7 separate regions of the Homo sapiens genome follow, and all the other regions are linked to region 1. The links are contacts of gene promoters, found by promoter capture Hi-C in blood cells and fetal thymus (Javierre and others, 2016). All regions are on one chromosome and are shown on one strand. The core of a region is centred on a gene start or on the middle of the fragment in contact, and the rest is flanking DNA. Distances in the headings are between cores, read along the strand shown.

What was found. Contacts are between HindIII fragments. The CHiCAGO score rates a contact against its expected background, and 5 or more counts as called.
Region 2: a contact is called between a fragment that was not itself captured here and the fragment with the promoter of TBCK in region 1, in 4 of 17 cell types (total B cells, total CD4 T cells, naive B cells and 1 more). The highest score is 8.5, in total B cells.
Region 3: a contact is called between a fragment that was not itself captured here and the fragment with the promoter of TBCK in region 1, in 1 of 17 cell types (total B cells). The highest score is 8.3, in total B cells.
Region 4: a contact is called between a fragment that was not itself captured here and the fragment with the promoter of TBCK in region 1, in 3 of 17 cell types (total B cells, naive B cells and naive CD8 T cells). The highest score is 7.2, in total B cells.
Region 5: a contact is called between a fragment that was not itself captured here and the fragment with the promoter of TBCK in region 1, in 7 of 17 cell types (total B cells, total CD8 T cells, naive B cells and 4 more). The highest score is 19.2, in total B cells.
Region 6: a contact is called between a fragment that was not itself captured here and the fragment with the promoter of TBCK in region 1, in 1 of 17 cell types (naive CD8 T cells). The highest score is 6.4, in naive CD8 T cells.
Region 7: a contact is called between a fragment that was not itself captured here and the fragment with the promoter of TBCK in region 1, in 1 of 17 cell types (total B cells). The highest score is 6.0, in total B cells.

The regions. Positions count from the first base shown.
Region 1 is chr4:106,314,871-106,317,537 of GRCh38, reverse strand. It overlaps TBCK (TBC1 domain containing kinase), which reads left to right and starts at 1,329. Exons shown (of 26, transcript NM_001163435.3): 1 at 1,329-1,607. AIMP1 (aminoacyl tRNA synthetase complex interacting multifunctional protein 1) reads right to left here and starts at 988. Exons shown (of 7, transcript NM_001142416.2): 1 at 944-988. RefSeq lists enhancers at 780-1,029, 1,520-1,579, 1,660-1,749. The HindIII fragment of the contact is 5,300 bases long and covers 1-2,667 here.
Region 2 is chr4:108,000,115-108,002,781 of GRCh38, reverse strand. All of the region lies in intron 1 of HADH (hydroxyacyl-CoA dehydrogenase), which reads right to left. Among named protein-coding and RNA genes, the nearest start is that of HADH, 12 kb to the right of the region's middle. The HindIII fragment of the contact is 2,945 bases long and covers 1-2,667 here.
Region 3 is chr4:107,937,655-107,940,321 of GRCh38, reverse strand. The region is part of intron 1 of CYP2U1 (cytochrome P450 family 2 subfamily U member 1); the gene reads right to left. All of the region lies in intron 1 of LOC107986298 (a long non-coding RNA gene), which reads left to right. Among named protein-coding and RNA genes, the nearest start is that of CYP2U1-AS1, 6.9 kb to the right of the region's middle. The HindIII fragment of the contact is 4,462 bases long and covers 1-2,667 here.
Region 4 is chr4:107,915,290-107,917,956 of GRCh38, reverse strand. All of the region lies in intron 1 of CYP2U1-AS1 (CYP2U1 and SGMS2 antisense RNA 1), which reads left to right. All of the region lies in intron 1 of LOC107986298 (a long non-coding RNA gene), which reads left to right. Among named protein-coding and RNA genes, the nearest start is that of CYP2U1, 15 kb to the left of the region's middle. The HindIII fragment of the contact is 6,871 bases long and covers 1-2,667 here.
Region 5 is chr4:107,706,925-107,709,591 of GRCh38, reverse strand. The region is part of intron 1 of PAPSS1 (3'-phosphoadenosine 5'-phosphosulfate synthase 1); the gene reads left to right. Among named protein-coding and RNA genes, the nearest start is that of PAPSS1, 12 kb to the left of the region's middle. The HindIII fragment of the contact is 3,967 bases long and covers 1-2,667 here.
Region 6 is chr4:107,668,220-107,670,886 of GRCh38, reverse strand. The region is part of intron 5 of PAPSS1 (3'-phosphoadenosine 5'-phosphosulfate synthase 1); the gene reads left to right. Among named protein-coding and RNA genes, the nearest start is that of PAPSS1, 51 kb to the left of the region's middle. The HindIII fragment of the contact is 3,792 bases long and covers 1-2,667 here.
Region 7 is chr4:105,150,514-105,153,180 of GRCh38, reverse strand. All of the region lies in intron 1 of TET2 (tet methylcytosine dioxygenase 2), which reads right to left. The region is part of intron 1 of LOC124900868; the gene reads left to right. Among named protein-coding and RNA genes, the nearest start is that of TET2, 5.0 kb to the right of the region's middle. The HindIII fragment of the contact is 9,556 bases long and covers 1-2,667 here.

The DNA.
Region 1 (2,667 bases), core at 80-2,579:
ATTGCAAAACTCTTCTTATTGGTCTCCTTTCTCCTACCACGTCCTCCTCTGTGTATTTTCCTTAAAGAGTGACCCTCTTAAAAGGAAGTCAGAGCCCATCACTCTACTGCTCAAAACGCTCCAAAGTCCTATTTCATTTAGAATAAAAGTTAGATGTCCTCAAGATCTTCATGACCTGCTCGCCTTGATTTAATCTCCAGTGAAGGACTAAACCCTTCACTCAACTCTGCCCTACAGGCCTCCTTGCTATTCTAGCACGTTTCTGCTTCATGACCTCTGCAATGGCTGGTCCCTCTGTCTGACTGCACTTTCCCAAGATATTCGCGTGGTTAAATCTCCCACTTCTGTCAGCCCTTTACTTAAAAGTCATCTTTTCAGCAAGACCTTCCTGTGTCACTTTATACCCTTCTTCCCTGCTTTACGTTTCTCTTCAGGACTATCACGACCTAAAATACAGTATGTTTCTAATTACTTTGCTTAGTATGTGCCTTCCTCTCTAAAATGTGAGCTACAAGTAGACACAGATTTCCGTCTGTTTTGTTCACTGCTGTTCACCTAATGCCTAGAACGGTGTCTGGAATAGAGTGGGCGCTTAATAACTATTCGCTCAATGAATAAATTCCTGTCTTCACCCTCCTCTCCCCCAAAGCACCTAAGTCCTTTGACACACACATTCACATAACAGTAAATACGCTTAGGGATCGATATTTTTCTGTAGCATTCTTAACTTAGGCCTGCATCCCATTTCTCAAACGTGGCTCCTTTAGAAGGAAGTCTCAAACTCTTTCCTGTTTCCTTAGGCCAGGGCTGGTCCTGCTGCGAACGGACTACCCATTAGCAGCGCAGGCCAGGTCCTCTCTCCTGGAGGCAAGTTAGAGAAGGAAGACCCCTACGATCGCAATCGGCGATCCCCGAGTGAGTGACCCGCCACGACGTCACTCACATGAAGCGGAGGACCACGGGTTCCGAGACAGCCACAGCAGGAAGCATGTAGGTCCAGCCACCCGCGTACTATAGCAGTGAGAAAGGACCCAATGAGGTGTCCTTGCTGAAAGCCTGAGTGTTCTACAGATTCAACCCTCAATTCTTTCTTCCTCTTCCTGTGCTCAGTCCCATTAACCTGCCATACCACGCTCCTCGTCTTCCATTCCCTCACCCAGTATTTTCAATCGACCCCCCCCGTCCCCCCGCACCTCTTTCTCTCTCGCTATATGTCCTTTCGTGGCCAGTTTGGGCAAGGGGAAGGACACCACAAGTCGGGGTCTTTCCTCAGCGTTGGGTCGCGGTGGCTGTGAGGGCGGAAGAAAAGGCCAGGCTGAGGGGAGGGTAGAGGGTGAAAAGCTCGGATCTGTGTTTGGGGAAGGCCAGGCTTGCGCTCCTCGCCGGGTTCCGCGAAGGTTAACCTTGGCTGACTTGGCTCGCGAGCAAAGGGCAGCGTCTGAGCTCCCGGCGTTCCAGGAGTGGCCTCTTTTGTAGGAGCACCTGAAATGCAGCGTCTGGTGCACTAAGCCGTAGCGGCAGCAGCAGCCACAGCGACAGCGCTGGGGCCCTGTGTAGAAGCTCCATCCCCCTTGTCTTTGTGCTTGCCTGCGTCCCCAGACTCAGAGGCAGGTATTTGGGTAATCCAGTTTTCCGTGTCGTAGTGGGTGGGGTCTGTGGGAGGTAGAGGACTATCAGGAGCAGTGAGTGGCCCCGCATGTCTTCAGAATAGATAGAGAACCGAGCTGTGGAGCCGCTTGCTGATAGGTACTGTCTCCATCCCTAGCTACAGCCCGCCTTTCCTGTAAATCAGGTTCACCTGAGTCGTTTGGGAACCGTAGGCTTAGTAATCGCTCTGTCACTGCCTCAAAGGAAGGCTAAAGGAGGTTAGAGAATCTAGAATCCGCCCCTCCATTACTCACCTTGGAGGCAGAATTTTGCTTTGGTTTGTTTCTGGCCCTCGAGGTTTAGTCAGTCGTCAAAGTGTAACACCCCCTTGAGCAGTAGGAGAAAGTGAAGCAGAGGAAGGAAGTTACTTGAGGATTGTCAGTGGCTGCTTTTCAAGGATCCCTGTCCTGGTTTCTATCTATTTGAGACAAAAATAACCTCTTGAGAGAATGTATATATAAAATAAATGAATTAGTATCATTTTCCTGTTGAAGAAATGTGAAATTTTATTCATGATAAAATCGGCGTCTTTTGCCCTATTTTTTACTTTCTTTCCCCATTCGAGTCGTTTAAAACTCTAAGTTCTTTGAGGGCACAGAGTCTGACTTGTTCATTATCCTTTGCCCACCAGCTGGAAAAACAACTGACTTAAAATAGGGGCTTCAAAATATTTGTTGAATGAATGAATTTTCAAGCCCAACTGCTTGCACTGCTGTTTCCCTCATCTAATCTCTCATCTCTACGTTTTTTTTCCCCCGGTAGTTTTCTTCCACTCACGAGGTGTAAGTGAATGTATGTGTGTGTATTTTTGTGTGTGAGCCTTTTTATGTACAACCATTTAAGAGGTAGTGGAAAAAGAACACTGATTATGCTAATTAGTGTTTTATCTTTTTCGATCATTGTGTTTTATTTGGTTATTTTATTTTCAGCTATGTGATGATAAAGACATCTGATTGAAAATAAAATGGTCGGGCGCGGTGGCTCACGCCTGTAGTCCTAGCACTTTGGGAGGTCGAGGCG
Region 2 (2,667 bases), core at 97-2,596, 1.7 Mb before region 1:
GGTAATGTATAAACAACAGAGATCAAGATCATCAGCATGTTCAGTGTCTGGTGAGGGCTGTTCTCTGCTTCCAAGATGGTGCCTTGCTGCTGCATGCTCTGGAGCAAAGGTCCCCAACCTTTTTTGGCACCAGGAAGACATGGGAGACAATTTCACGGAAGACAATTTTTCTACCGTCTTGCAGGGAAGAGGGGATGGTTTAGGGATGATTCAAGTGCATTACATTGATTGTGCACTTTATTTCTATTATTATTACATTGTAATATATAATGAAATAATTATACATCTCACCACAATACAGAATTAGTGGGAGCTCTGAGCTTGTTCTGCTGCATCTAGATGGTGCCATGTGGGGATAATGGGAGACAGTGACAGATCATCAGGCATTAGATTCTCACAAGGACACGAAACCTAGATCCCTCACATGCACAGTTCACAATAGGATTCATGCTCCTATGAGAATCTAATGCAACTCTTGATCCAACAGGAGGCAGAGCTCAGGTAGCAATGCAAGTGATGGGGAGCAGCTGTAAATACAAATGAAGTCTTGCTAGCTGCTCACATCCTTCTATGTGGCCCGGTTCCTAATGGGCCACGGACCAGAAGTTGGGGACCCCTGCTCTGGAGGGGACGAGCACTGTGTCCTCATATGGCAGAAGGGAGAAGAGGCAAAGTTGGTCTCTCAAGCCCCTTTAAATGGCACTAAGCTGTTCATGAATACAGAACCCTCATGACCTAATCACCTCCTAAAGGCCTTATCTCTTAATACTGCTGCACTGGGGATTCAGCTTCGACATAAATTTTGGAGGGAACACAAACATTCCTATCAGAGTAGCTTCTTCCACCACCACTGCTGCATGAAATTAGATACAGTTGGTCCCCCCTTTATCTGTGGTTTTACTTTCTGTAGTTTCAGTTACCAACAGTCAACTATGGTCCAAAAATATTAAATGGGAAATTATAGAAATAAATGATGCATGTTTTAAATTGCATGTCATTCTGAGTAGTGTGATGCAATCTTGAATTGTCCTGTCTGGGAGGAGACTCATCCCTTGGTCCAGCATATCCACACTGTATACTACCCAATCCATTAGTCACTTGGTAGTTGACTGGGTTATCAGATCAAAAAGACATAGTATGTATAGGATTTGGTACTATCTGCAGTTTCACGCATCCACTGAGGGTCTAGGAATGTACTCCCTCCCCTCGTAAGGGGGGACTACTGTAACTTATCAATGGTCTACTAAATTGCTAAAGTCAATGCCTGTTCTTTGGCTTCATCTTCTACAACAGCTCTGTACATTGCCAATAAAAGTTTCATTTTTGAAACTCTTCAGTTTCTTATCTGTCTGTTCCTTTTAGCCATATTAATTGACCTCTCTTGATCTTCTAAGCCTATAAACAAGGACTTCCTTCAAGGTTCTGTTTCCAATATAATTTCCTTCTGAAATTCCAATCGTTCTCATACTTCCAACTGTGCCTGAAACCAAAATAATCTATCTAAGCTGCAGTTATCACCTTGACCCTAAAATCAATTCTCCTTGGCCTTCATTACTGGTACCACTATTCTGTAGGTCACCATTTTCTGGACAACACTTTTTCCTTAATCCCAACCATTAACTGCTGTCCAGAAATGTTCTATCCATTATTCAGGCCCATTTCAAATGCTACCCTCTCCATGAAGCCTTTTTCCAAATGAATGTACTTTCTATTTTGAAACCTCAGAACTAGATTTTTACTGCTCTTATTGTACTACTTTACACCAAAGTAAACTGTGTCATTTAGATCTCTGTCTAATCTCTGCTCTTAGATTTAAAATCCCTTAATGGCAGAAATTGATTTGGTCTTTGTAGCCCTTAGTACTTATCACATGCCTTGAATATGATAGCTGGTCAATAACTGCTAAATAACAAATGCTTTGGACGGTAGTAACCCGATTCTGTAGTCTTCCCCAGCCACACCACACGTCTCCCTCCTCTGTGCTATCTCATGGCTCTGTGCCCTTGTTCATGTGGTTTCCTCTGCCATACATGTCCGGCTCCCTCATTGCTGCTTCATGGACTTCAACTTACCCTTCATAATCTAACATGGACACCATCTCTCCTTTAGTGAAACTTCTCCCAACCCTTAGTAGAGGTAATCACTTCTTTTGTGCCTCTAGTGATTTGCAGATACAGCAGATCTTTTGTGCAGGAATTCAAATACTGAAAGAAAATAACTGGGTGTGGCGCTGGTGTGAACCACCAATGGCTGCTCAGTTATGTAATGGCAGCCCAGTCCCCAGGATGTGAACAGAACAGAGAAATAAAAACTTAACTGGTTATAGACTATTTCATGTCATAAGAATCTCACCGATTTCAGAATAAAAGTTATTAACCAACCAGAGCATAGGAGAAATCCCAGATGTGAAAGATGAATGATACACTTGAAATAGAAAAGCTAACCATACCAACCTTTTCTTCTTTAAAAAACTGATATGTAATAGCTGTACATACTTTTGGGGTACATGTGACATTTTGATACCTGCCTAAAATGTGTAATGATCAAATCAGGGTAACTGGGATATCCAACACCCTAAACACTTATCTTCTCTTTGCCAACACCAACTTTAGATGATGAAATCAAGATAGTACGGAGAGACCTTTCAAAAGTGCTGTTGCATCATCC
Region 3 (2,667 bases), core at 122-2,621, 1.6 Mb before region 1:
TTGAACCCAGGAGTTTCAGACCACCTTGGCAACACAGTGAGACCCTGTCTTTAAAAAATAAAAAAAAAATTTTAATTAGCTGGGTGTGGTGGCTCAAGCCTGTAGTTCCAGCTACTCGGGAGGCTGAGGTGAAAGGATCACTTGAGCCTGGGAGGTCAAGGCTGCAGTAAGCTGATATCACGCCAATGGACTCCAGCCTGGGTGACACAGTGAGACTCTGTCTAAAAAAAAAAAAAGGAAAAAAAAGAAGAAATGGCAGCGTCAAGTATATAGTTGCCACTTAGAGTAGGGGTAGGAAAACATTTTCTATGCTAAGGTCCAGGCCAAGATAGACAAATGTCCTTGTTTTCTTTTGTCGGTGGCCAGGGTTGTTGAGTGTTCTCTGTCAAACTTTCACCCAGTTGAAGCACTTCAAGAGTTCTGTCTTTGTCTAGAAGCAACTTTTCATTTTGCCAGGCCATATCTCTTCCCCACCCCCCATCCCCCAGCCAAGGCTCTCTAGATCATCTACCTACTATTTTCTGCAGGGGTGGGGGCAGTGATAAGGACCTGATCTTATTTTATGTGCATTCCAAACTATCCTTGTTCTCAGTCTACTGGCTCATTTCTGTCTCCTATGATCACTGGTACCTCCAATTTCTAACCCGTTTTGAGATTCTGCATGGTAAACTAGGGGAGTAGTTCTCATTCTGTCCTCTCATACTCCACTGGCATTCCCCTCTGTAGATGCTTAAGTGTAGTCATCCTCCACTCTATTAAGTCATTTGCCAATCATATAGCCACTTTGTCTTCAGATGTTGTGGTGCAGAAATGTAGATGTGTCATTTCATTTCAATGTGGATAGAGTGTGTTCTTCTGTTCAACATTCCTCTGGTATGGTATGTGATTGTTGAGACAAAGAAGGAATGGAAATGTCTTAACCACTCCTGAAACCAGAACTCTCCTTTTGTGTAATAAAGGCCCATAAACTATTTCCTAGGCTACAAAAGTTTAATCATTCCTCCTGTCTTTAACCATGACCAAGTCTTCTGCTGCAGAGTATTCAGAGGCCAAGTGTTGGTGGGCCTCCTCTTCTCTTGGATAGATATGGTCTTCCACACCAGCTTCAGGATTTGATACCAATCCCACCTACCCTCTCTCCCTATTTTTATTTATTTTTTTGAGACGGAGCCACACTCTGTCACCCAGGCTGGAGTGCAGTGGCGCGATCTCGGCTCACTGCAACCTCCGCCTCCTGGGTTCAAGCGATTGTCCTGCCTCAGCCTCGAGTAGCTGGGACTACAGGCGCATGCCACCACACCCGGCTAATTTTTGTATTTTTAGTAGAGATGGGGCTTCACCATGTTGGCCAGGCTGGTCTTGAACTCCTGACCTCAGGTGATCCACCTGCCTCGGCCTCCCAAAGTGCTGGGTTAACAGGCATGAGCCACCGTGCCTGGCCCTCTCCTTATTTAATATATCATATATAGCATCTCTGCTTTGTCCTATTTATCAAAAAACATTATTTTTCCTTTGTTAGGTCCTCGATCTTATCATCTAACCATTTTTAAACTACAAATTTGTATTTTAGAAATATTTGGTCTAGCAAAATGGCTCCGAAGCAAAAATCAGGACTCTTTTGCTTCAGAATAACAAAAATATACCCTCAAGCTAGTTCATCAAACAGGCCAGTTAGGCTATGGAATGAACAAACAGGAAGGAAAGGGTATTGCCACCTCAGGGAATACTGTCACAGAACTCTTCCTCCCTGTACCTATTTTTCCCTCCTCTCTCTCTGACTTCATTCTTTCCAACTGCAAACCAGCTTTTCAATGAAAAATGAGCTATCCTGAGATGCCTATTTTCCCAGTTTCACCACCAAAAGGAAAAGCCCTCTATTTTCTAGATTCAACCTGAGAAATTCTGGGGAAGGATTCAAATGCTTCAGTAAGGTGTCCTGCGGTGATACCAACTTGAGATAACTTAAATTTATTTTATGGCTTGAGGTTTCTAACTATGCCATGCTATTCTTATCCCAAAACTATGTGAGGATTGATGTATAGTTGTGAATTGTTGAGTTCTGTGCCTGGCCTACAGATTAACCAGTTACAAAAAGGTTAGAAATTCTGATCAGTCTACTTTTGGTCAGTATGTCCCTCAACTTACTTATCACTGTGGCCAAGAAGGTGAGTTTATGTAAAGATATGGCATCTGCCGTTCAACCACAGTTAAGGGTAAAAGGGACTGAGGTCAGAAAAAAGGAATTCCTCAGAAGAAGCAGGTATTCTTGTCCAAGGAACAGGTGCTAGACAGTGGAAACATAAAAATCCAACTCAAACCAAATAAAGTATAGACTAAATTGACATTGATACATTCTCACAAACAGATATTATACAGCTCCTAAGAACTTTACAGGAGAATATTTAATAATATGAAAATATGCTCATAATACTTTAAGTGATAAAAAGCAATTTTTAAAATTATGAAAATTATTCCATTTTAAGGAGGCAAATATATTTCTAAAAATACATGTACATGGGCCAGGCACGGTGGCTCACGTCTGTAATCCCAGCAATTTGGGAGGCTGAGGTGGGCGGATCATGAGGTTAGGAGATCGAGACCATCCTGGCTAACACAGTGAAACCCCCTCTGATAAAAATACAAAAAATTAGCCAGGTGTGGTGCAGG
Region 4 (2,667 bases), core at 100-2,599, 1.6 Mb before region 1:
GGAGTTCTTTTGCCTTCAAGGCCATTTTGCACTAGGAGCCAACTTTTCTCCCCTTTGAAATTAGTAAATTGTAATTTTAAGAAAAATCTGTAGCATGTGACAAAGAACCTGTCCCAAGGACAGTTTGCTTCTGAAACTAATTTCCTAACAAAACCCTAACTGTGATGGTGACCATAGTAATTACGACAGGGAGGCAGCAAGCTACAGCCCACAAAAACAAAACTCAAGTTCTAGCTCTAACATTTATGAACCCTTTCATGTCATAAAATGGGGTCACCTTCTCTTGCCTTGCTTACTTCACAGGGTTTTGTGAAGATTAAAGAATGTATGCCAAGCGTTAACTGTAAAATGCTATGTTTGATTACAGGTGCCACATATGGATTAAATGTGCATTTTATATATATATATATCTATATACATACACATAGTAATACATAATCCATTACTATCCTAACTTAGATTAAAAAATGTATGCCAAGCGTTAACTGTAAAATGCTATGTTTGATTACGGGTGCCACATATGGATTAAATGTGCATTATATACATATATCTATATACACACACAGTAATACATAATCCATTACTATCCTAACTTAATACAGTATTATGCTTCTGATATTCTTATTTATTAGAAGAAAATAAAATTTACATGTCAATTCGTGAAGCATCTATGACTTTACTTACAAGCCCACAAGTTAGCCTGTTCCTGTTTCATTGGATGCTAGAAGACACAAGACTCCTGAGTCAGAGACAAAGGACTTCACTACACATAGCATAGCAGTATCCAAAGTGTCAGCATGGTCCCTTTGGCTCCCTTGTCTCTCAAATCCCATGGGGATGACTTGGAGAGGTGAAGACAGATGTTACATATGCAGTGGGTTTTCACCTCAACTGAGGACCACTGAGCTTCGCATTTTTACTGCTTTACAGTAAACAGAAAAAAAGACTTCTCTTTATTTAGGGTGATATGCTACCTCATTACTTAACATTGCTTACTGCAAATACAATCCTGAGAAATGGCCTGGGTAACAGGAGTTAGGGCCTTGCACTCAGCATGCCCAGCAAAAAATGTGCTGGATGGATGCTCAGAGCCCATGGCACATTACCTCTCCCAACCTTTGGATGAGATAAAACATGACCTCTCCCAACCTTTGGATGAGATAAAATATGACCTCTCCCAACCTTTGGATGAGATAAAATTTGATGTCTATTGTGCAATTTTGCTAAAATATTAAATAGAAAAGAATGGTAAAATTCAGTGACAATGCATCCAGAAAAGCAATTCACTTCCACTTCTGAAACATCTAGCTGGCTATGAAGGCCCTGACCAACATTTCCTAAAACTTACAAACATTTCCTAAGACTTGCATATATTTTATGCAATTGAAATTCTTATGATGTGACTTAGGAGTTATGGGCGAGTCTTATAGTGCAGACATTTCCACTTAAATGTCAGGAATTTTATGTATCAGCAGCTCTAGTGTATGGCACACAGAATCACTCAAATGGTTGGTGAACATAGTCTAGTTTCCTGTCTTCCTGTGTCTCAGCAGGAGATTCAAAATATCAGGGAAGATGAATATTATCAAAAGTTGTGGCGACCTCTTAATAGCATGATCATCTGGAGAGACTGAAGGCATTACGCAGGGTCAAGACTGTAATGACCTGCAATCAAAAAACCTTACAGACTTGAAGCTGAGTCTGTCGTTAAGTAGACATATAGATCATATAGATACTTTTCTATCTTTAAATGTGGTGGGGATGAGATGGGGGTTGAAGTAAGCGAATTTAAATTCACTTTCTAGTGAGACTAGCATCTAATCCTGGTGGCAAAACTTGTTTGGACACACCACTACATTCTAATTCTAAAATCAACAGCTGTGAGGTAGAGATCTCAAACCAAGCATGAATGATCACCATTCTTTTTTGTTTTAAAGTGGTTTTAATTACTTAGGAAACTTGCCCATGATTAGTGTGATTGAAAATGCCACTTTAACTGCAGTTGTAAAGTGCCTATTGATTCCTTATTGGAGTAAGAGACAGAGTACTACTTTAAAAAACTTCACTATCCTCAGTACTTTCAAAAATGCCCAGAGAGTTTTATCCTCTCGTAGGAGGCACACTCAAGAGCTTTTGTATGAAGAAAACAAATGGAACCCAGAATGAATTAGCCCCTTAGTAAAAGTTCCTGTTAGTCCCTTGCACGATGAACAAGAGTTCACGTTAGTTTCTTGCACGATGCATTCTAGATAAGGGCAGACTTTGAAGCTATATGGCCAGCAAAATCAGCATGCCAGTGTTTCCACAGGATGATGGGAACGTCACTGTGATGAGCTTTTCATCCAAGGTCTGGGTGGAGGTGGCAGAAAAACTATTCTGATCTATGCTCCATCATTTCTAGATAATCTAAGGATAAAGCCTGGACTATCTCCTGTAACTTACTCTTTGAACCTTATTATCTTATCCTATTCACTTCACCCCAATGAATTGCTTTTACAAAATTTATCTTGGAGGAGGGGCATTTGTCATCAGCAGATTCAAAACCTACTTACCGCACCTTGCTGTTGCAATGTCTAGCAAACTCCAGTTGAGGATATTACCTTAGGCTTCTGTCTTGTGAAGGCATAAGGAGACCTAGTGACAGAAAGGGGTCTGCTTTTCATGAGT
Region 5 (2,667 bases), core at 55-2,554, 1.4 Mb before region 1:
GAGTAACTGGGGAAGTTGAAAATCTTGTGACTTCTGGAATAGTGGCTGGTAATCATTTATGTTTACACCTTGGGAGGATTCAGGCTCCTCTCATCTCCTAACCTGGTGGTCTTTTATTAGCTTTAAAAGATGGTTTACTTTTGGGGAAGTAGTATTATCATTTAAACTAAAAACTAAATTTCTCCCAAAGTTAGCTTGACCCAAACCCAGCAATACCTAAGGGCAGTTTGGAGGTTAAAGGCAAGATGGAGGTTGGTTAGATCAGATCTTTTTCACTGTTAACAATTTTCTCACTTGTAATTTTTGCAAAGGCTGTTTCAATTCCAGTAGTTTTATAAAAGTGCTCTTTGATTTACTTTGAAAAATTGGGAGTTAGGACAATGTGGCAATTTTTTTTAAGTTTATTTTTTAATATGAAAAATATTGTTAAAAACTTTAGCTGAATTAAATTTAAAAGAGTTTGAGCAAAGAACAATTCGTGAATCAGGCAGCCTCCTGAGCCAGAGTAGGCTCAGAGGCTCCAGTGCAGCTGCATGGTAGAAGATTTATGGACAGAAAAAGGAAAGTGGTGCACAGAAAATGGAAGTGAGGTCCAGAAACAACTGGATTGGTTATAGCTCAGCATTTGACTTATTTGAACATGGTTTGAACAGTTGGCCACATTTGATTGGCCAAAACTCAGTCATTGGCACAAGGGTGGATACAGTCTGTTTGTCTCCAGCTAGGTTAGTTTAGTACATATGGAGAAACCTTTAGGCTGAACTTAAAATATGTAAAAGAGGTAGCTTTAGGCTTAACTTGATTTAACAATATCAAACATACATAAACCAAAAAAAATCTCCTTATATCCAGAGTACTATGTTTGCTGCCAGAATCTTTTTAAATGTAGGAGGCAAGAAACTGAGGGAGCATTCTTTTTAGAGATTAAAACAGACGGTCTCTACTTACCCTGTCTGTATTTTTTCTCAGCCATATTCTCAGCAGTTGATAGCTTGACAGATAATTTTTATGCATTCTAGCTTGATTTGATAAGAAAAGCAGAAGATATTTTACAGAGCCCAAATCAATTAAAATTCATTAGATATATGTTTCTTCTTGTCTATAAAGAGTGAAGTAACTTGGAAAAATCCTCAAACAAAATGACCAAGCCAAACAGGTTCTACCAGTATAGGCAGCAAAATGTGTATAGCACCCTCTGCAATTCCCTTTTAGCAGAGACTTTAGCTCCCTTTTCCTCCTTAGCCAGTATCAATGGGAGCTAAAGCTAAAGAGGTGCCACTGCTTCTCAAGATATACAAATGTCTACTTCTGAAGCCCTCTTTTTTAAGTTCTTGGAAATGTAGAGCTGGTAAGTTGTATTTGCTTCATCAGTTTATTGAAAAGAAATGAATCTAGAGACTCATTACAATTTTTTGTAAGTGATTATTAAATATGTAAAAGTATTTTATTGGAAATAAAGTATTAATAATTATTGTGTAAATAATTATTGTTAATGAGATGAGTAGATGGGAAGGGGTGCAGCTTTTGTGGCATACCTATTAAAAAGAGTTGTCAAATTGTCCCTTTGGTCCCAGAGGATTTTTCAGGTAATGGTAATGATGATAATAAGATTCAGATGTGTGGGAGATGGCATTTCTGCTGTACAGGATTGTGAAGGGGAAGGTAGGAAAAGAGATCCTTAATCTCATGGAAGTTGAAGATTTGTATAGAAATTTAATTCCTTAAAAGTCAAATCTGTGTATTGGTGGAGGTCAGCAAAATGACAGAATGGGACTTCCCAGTGCTTGTCTTCACACAGAAACATAAATTGAACAACTATTCTTGCACAAAAATACTTTAATAAAAGCTAAGGAAACCAGGTGAGAGATGACCGCACCTGGATGTAGCAGAGAAATCAGAAAAAACACATTGAAGAGAGTAGAAAGAACAGTTTTACATGACCTATATTACTGCCCCCAGCCTGCAACCTCAGGCAGCACGTGGAGAAAGATACCCTTTGCTTAGGGGAGGAAGAGGGCAGTAAGCAAAAGATTTTGCCTCAGAACCCAACACCAGGCCCACCTCAGTGAAACTCAGTGCAAGGCAGGCCCCCGTAGCCCCAGACTCCAGGATGGTACCTATGGATTGAGCGTCCAAGCCTACCCTGGTACTAAGCAGGATTCTGCAGCCCAAGGTTCCAGCTCCTCCAACCTCCACCACCAGGCCAGACCCAATTGATGCAAGTTTTAGACTTGTCTTAGGGCCAGGCTGGCCCCAGTGGCCCTGGGCTTAGAGCTACCTTTAGTACCAGGCTGGCTGTCACAGGCAGGCACCTGTGGATACAGGCTTCAAGCTGTCCCAGCTTCAGGCCCTCTCCAGGTTTCAGACCAGCTGAGAGCCAGGTTGGCCCACACAGCCCTGGGCTTCAGGTCTGCCCCAGTACAAGGCCATTCCCTGTAGCCCCACCCTCCAGGCTGGCTGCTGCAACCCCATACTTAAGAGATCCAAGGTTTCAGGACCATCCCAATACATCTCAGCACTATACCAGCTCCCATTGACCCAGGCTGTAAGACCATTTCTGTGGACCCAGGTTCCAGGCCAGCACCCATATGCTGAGCATCTAGGTCAGCTCCCATGGCTTCAGGGCAGGTCCTGTGATTCTAGGTAGGCTTCAGACCAACCACTGTA
Region 6 (2,667 bases), core at 86-2,585, 1.4 Mb before region 1:
ACTGATTTTTCCATTGTTTATAGAATTGAGATGATTTATACCTGGCATATGCCAGGTGTGGTGGTTCACACTTGTAATCCCAGCACTTTGGGAAACTGAAGCAGGAAGATTGCTTGAGGCCAGGAGTTCAAGACCAGCCTGGGCAACATAGTGAGATCCTGTCCTTGTCTCCAAAAATTTTTTTTAAAAAGTAGTCAGGTGTGGTGGCACATCCCAGATACTCAGGAGGCAGAGGCACGAGGATCTCTTGAGCCCAGGAGTTTGAGGCTGCAGAGAGCTATGATTCTGCCACTGCCCTCCAGCCTGGATGACAGAGTGAGACCCTGTCTGAAATAAAAAATAAATAAAATAAAATGCATCAATAAAAATCAAATAAAGAGGAAAGATGATTTGTGTTCACAGTTCTTCATAGTTTGGTTCCATGCTGCATATTTTCTTATTTATTGTCCTTATGAAGTTCACCGTAGTATTTTCTTTCTTTCTTTGGTGCTATTGCTTGTCTTATCTCTGTAGTCTTAGTTAATGCCTTCCTCCTAATTTATTTGTACCTAATTAATGACTATGCTAATTGCTCTTCCTTGTATATGGATACTAATCTGTATTATGCTTGCTAGACAATCTGATGATTGGACAGTTTCATTCAAGGATATTATCCTTGAAAAAGAAGGATAGATAAGAAATTAACATTTGCTGAGTCCTTATTATAAGGGACATATTTATAGTATGTTGTCTTTTAAAATAACTTGTTCTGTTTATTTCAATTGGAGGAAAGTGACCTTTTTTCCTAATTTAGCTTCCAACTGTCTCTCACCTGAATTACTGTGGTAGTTTTCCAAGTGGTCCTTGTGCTAAGCTCTTTTCATATGTTGTTTGATTTTATTCATACAGTAAACCTTTGAAGTATTTCAGAGAAATGAAGAAACTTGTTCATGGACATGTTGGATTCTGCATCTAGAATTTCAGTAATTTTCTTATACCTCTGGCTTTTACTTTCAGGAGTGTTCTCCTTACACTTAAGTGAGATGTAATTAAATCTACATCCAGAAAGGGATTCTGGTTATGTTCATTTAGGAGAGAGAAATTTTCTTTTGAAAAACTGTTAATTTTTATCTTAAAGGTGGGTGGTGACAAAAGAAGAAATGCAAATGCCTCCTTAATTTGATAGCTTTCTTTTGGTATCACCCTCCTTTTCAATATTTGTTACATGCTTTTCTGAATAAATGACTTCACTTCCCAATGAAAGCACGCATATTTCTCTGTTGTACTTAGTTGATCTTTTTAGTTAATTTAACAGATAGTTAATGCTATATGTGGTAGGCACTTTTGTGGACACTGCGGATGTGGCAGTGAATTAAGCAATAAACATTCCAGCCTCATGGACCTTAATTTTTGGTCTTCACCACTGTTATTTTGTTTATAGTGTATAGACTAGAATGAGCATATATAGATTCATTTATTTCTCTTCTTTTATACTATGATGTAGAATTTAAAAATGCAATTGAGGAAGAAATACACATAGACACACAACTATATCTGTCTTTTATTTTCTTTTGGTTGTTTTTCTCACTAAGTTGAATCCCAGTGGGCATTAGGGCACATGGAGAAACCAGTGAATACCTGACATTCAGCTCAAAGTTCATCCTTAGAAATGCCAGTTGTGCATTTGCCCACTGTACTTCATTGCAAAGTGACTTGCTATAATGTGTACTTTTCATATCAAACTCCCTCTATCCAGGGGTAGCAAATTCAGTTCATTTAACTTCATTGTTATCACAAAGACATTTGTTAGGTTTTCCAAAGGTGGGCTATGGGAGGACACATAGTACAATCTAAATATAGATTGGGAGGTGAAGGGGATGAATATATCAAGTACCATGTTGCTTTAAAGCAAGGAATAATAACCAAATTTATGTAGCTTTAGAGTATGTGTTTGGAGTAGGGAGGTGAAGGTTAGGGGTCCTACATTAACCAGCATTATGTAAAAGAATATATAAATGTGTGTGCTGAAAGCGAATGCCATGGGCAGTATATTAGGGTTCTCTAGAGGGACAGAACTAATGGAATATACGTACATATATATGTGTGTGTGTATATATATTTTATATATATATGAGTTTATTAAGTATTAACTTGCATGATCACAAGGTCCCACAGTTGGCCATCTGCAGGCTGAGGATCCAGGAGAGCCAGTCTGAGTTCCAAAACTGAAGAACTTGGAGTCTGATGTTCGAGGGCAGGAAGCATCCAGCACCGGAGAAAGATGTAGGCTGGGAGGCTAGGCCAGTCTCTCTTTTCACATTTTCCTGCCTGCTTATATTCTAGTGATGCTTGTAGTTGATTAGATGGTGCCTACCCAGATTAAGAATGGGTCTGGGTTTCCTAGCCCACTGACTCAAATGTTAATCTCCTTTGGCAACGCCCTCACAGATGCACCCAGGATCAATGCTTTGTATCCTTTCCATCCAATCAAGTTGACACACAGTATTAACCATCACAGGCAGAGATGGAGACCATCAACAGTAACTTACCAGTTGAACTCTTACTGTGTGCTAGGCCCTGTGTTAGGTACTGCAGTGGCATTATTGCATCTAATTTACATTGAAATTGAGAAGTATTTATAATTATCTTCATTTTGCTGATAAGGAAACAGATTCCAGAGGTGAAGTT
Region 7 (2,667 bases), core at 49-2,548, 1.2 Mb after region 1:
CTGGGGGAAATTGAGCAAGTATACGTGGAATCTCTCTGTATTATTTCATACAATGGCATATGAATCTATAATTAACTCAAAAAATATTTCAATTAAAAATATATGATCCCATATAAGTTTACTAAAAACCATTCACTTTTGTGCTTAAAATGGGTGGCTTTTATAGGGCAATTGCCATAGCCTGTAGAAATTAAATGTAAGGAAAACACACCATTACTCCTACCATCATCACCATCACCAAGACACTTAACACTATTTTTCTCTTATACATTGAAAATAGATTAGACCAGGTGCAGTGGCTCATGCCTGTAATCCCAGCACTTTGGGAGACCCGGGCAGGCAGATCACCTGAGACCAGGAGTACGAGATCAGCCTGGCCAACATGGTGAAACCCTGTCTCTAATAAAAATAGAAAAATTAGCCAGGTGTGGTGGGGCACGCTCCTAGTCCCAGCTACTCTGGGGGCTGAGAAAGAGAATCACTTGAACCTGGAAGGCAGAGGTTGCAGTGAGCCGAGATCACACCACTGCACTCCAGCCTAGGTGACAGAGCAAGATACCGTCTCAAAAAAAAAAAAAAAAAGAAAGAAAGAAAGAAAGAAAAAGGAAAAGAAAATAGATTATACTTTTTTTTTCTAGTTAAATTGCATGGTTTTTCACTAGTTCTATATCATCCATTAAATATTGACTGAGAGGTCAACAGTAGGTTCTATTAGGGAATAGAAAGACATAGAAATCAGTGCCTACCTTCCAATAGACAAAAAAGAAATGTAATTTGAAAGAAACATTTGTAGTATTTTTAGTCAAACAACCAGTTCATTTTATATCCTAGACTGTCCTTCAAAAACACTTTATCCCAATTTATTCATCTCCTATTTATTATTATTATTTTTCTTTTTTTGAGGCAGAGTCTCTCTGCCTCGCCCAGGCTGGAGTGCAGCAGAGCCATCTCGGCTCACCGCAGCCTCTGCCTCCCGGGAGGGTTCAAGCAATTCTCCTGTATCAGCCTCCAGAATAGCTGAGACTACAGGCATGTGCCACCACACCCAGCTAATTTTGTATGTTTAGTGGAGATGGGGTTTCACCATGTTGGCCAGACTGGTCTCGAATTCCTGACGTCAGGTGATCCACCTGCCTCGGCCTCCCAAAGTGCTGGGATTATAGGTATGAGCCACCATGCCCAGGCTCAAGTGATTCTCGGGCCTCAGCCTCCTGAGTAGCTGGGATTACTGGTGTGTGCCACCATGCCCGGCTAATTTTTGTATTTTTAGTAGAGACAGGGTTTCACCATGTTGGCCAGGCTGGTCTCAAACTCCTGACCTCAGGTCATCCACCTGCCTTGTCGTCCCAAAGTGCTGGGATTACAGGCATGAGCCACCACAACCGGCCTCGTCTCTTACTTTAATTCTCAGTTTATTTGGAACATGATTTCAAGTCAGTTTAGAGGAACAACTTTCAGTGAGTATAAAGCATTGAGTTCTGAATTATTTTTATTTTTATTTTTATTGAATAGAGACAGGTATCTCACTATGTTGCCCAGGCTGGTCTAGAACTTCTGGCCTCAAGTGATCCTCCTGCCTTCCCCTCCCAGAATGAGCCACCACACCTGGCCTGAGTTCTGAATTCTTAAAACTGCAGGTAGGATGATATTATCACTGAATTTATTTTTACATATATTATATATTGAAAATATATATTATCTATATCTAATATATATTATATTGAAAATCCACCTACTATCTGTTTCTTCTTTTTGAAGTATGACACATTTAACTACATGTCATTACAAATGAAGAAAACATAAATCAAAGCTGATAGAATGTGCTTTTTTGTTTGTTTGGTTTTGTTGTTGTCGCTGTTTGAGATAGGGTCTCTCCCTCTTGCCTGGGCTGGAGCGCAGTGGTGTGATCAGAGCTCACTATAAGTTAGAACACTTGAGCTCAATCCATCCTCCTATCTCAGTCTCCTGAGTAGCTGGGACTACAGGAATGTACCACCATGCCCCACTAACTTTTTAAATTTTTTGTAGAGACTGGGGCCTGACTGTGTTGCCCAGGGTGGTTTCAAACTCCTGGCCTCAAGTGATCTCTCACCTTGGCCTCCCAAAGTGCTAGGATTACAGGCATGAGTCACCACGCCCATCCAAAATTTGTTATTTGGAATGGACAACCAAATATCTATTCTTTTGAGAAAAAGATTATATATCTATTTTAAGTCAGCAAGTCTCTGCAATGTACAATATAGGACAAAAATAATGCTGGAAATAGCAGACATACATAATTCTTTTTGGATTGTAGTCACAGTGATTCACATGCTCTGACTTTCCCCTTTCCCTCCTGGAACCCTTCTCTCCTACTATATACCAAACCAACAGATGTACTGCATAACCTCCTTCAATAATGTCACAGTATTCACTCAGTTTTGGCAGTGAGTAGAAATAGAAATTGGAGATCTAGACCAAGTAAATACTGTATATTTGGCAAAATCATTTGTGGTTGTGTTCTTCAGCACAGTTTCCCAGATAACCACCAGCTCTACTTGGCAACTGGTCTTTCCCACAGTGAAGGCTCCAATTGTAAAGTTGGCTTGGGAGATATTCTATTGCTGCTGGCTTTGGTACCATTACTATCCTTAAGAACTACTGTGCAATGGTAGAATAATCATTGAC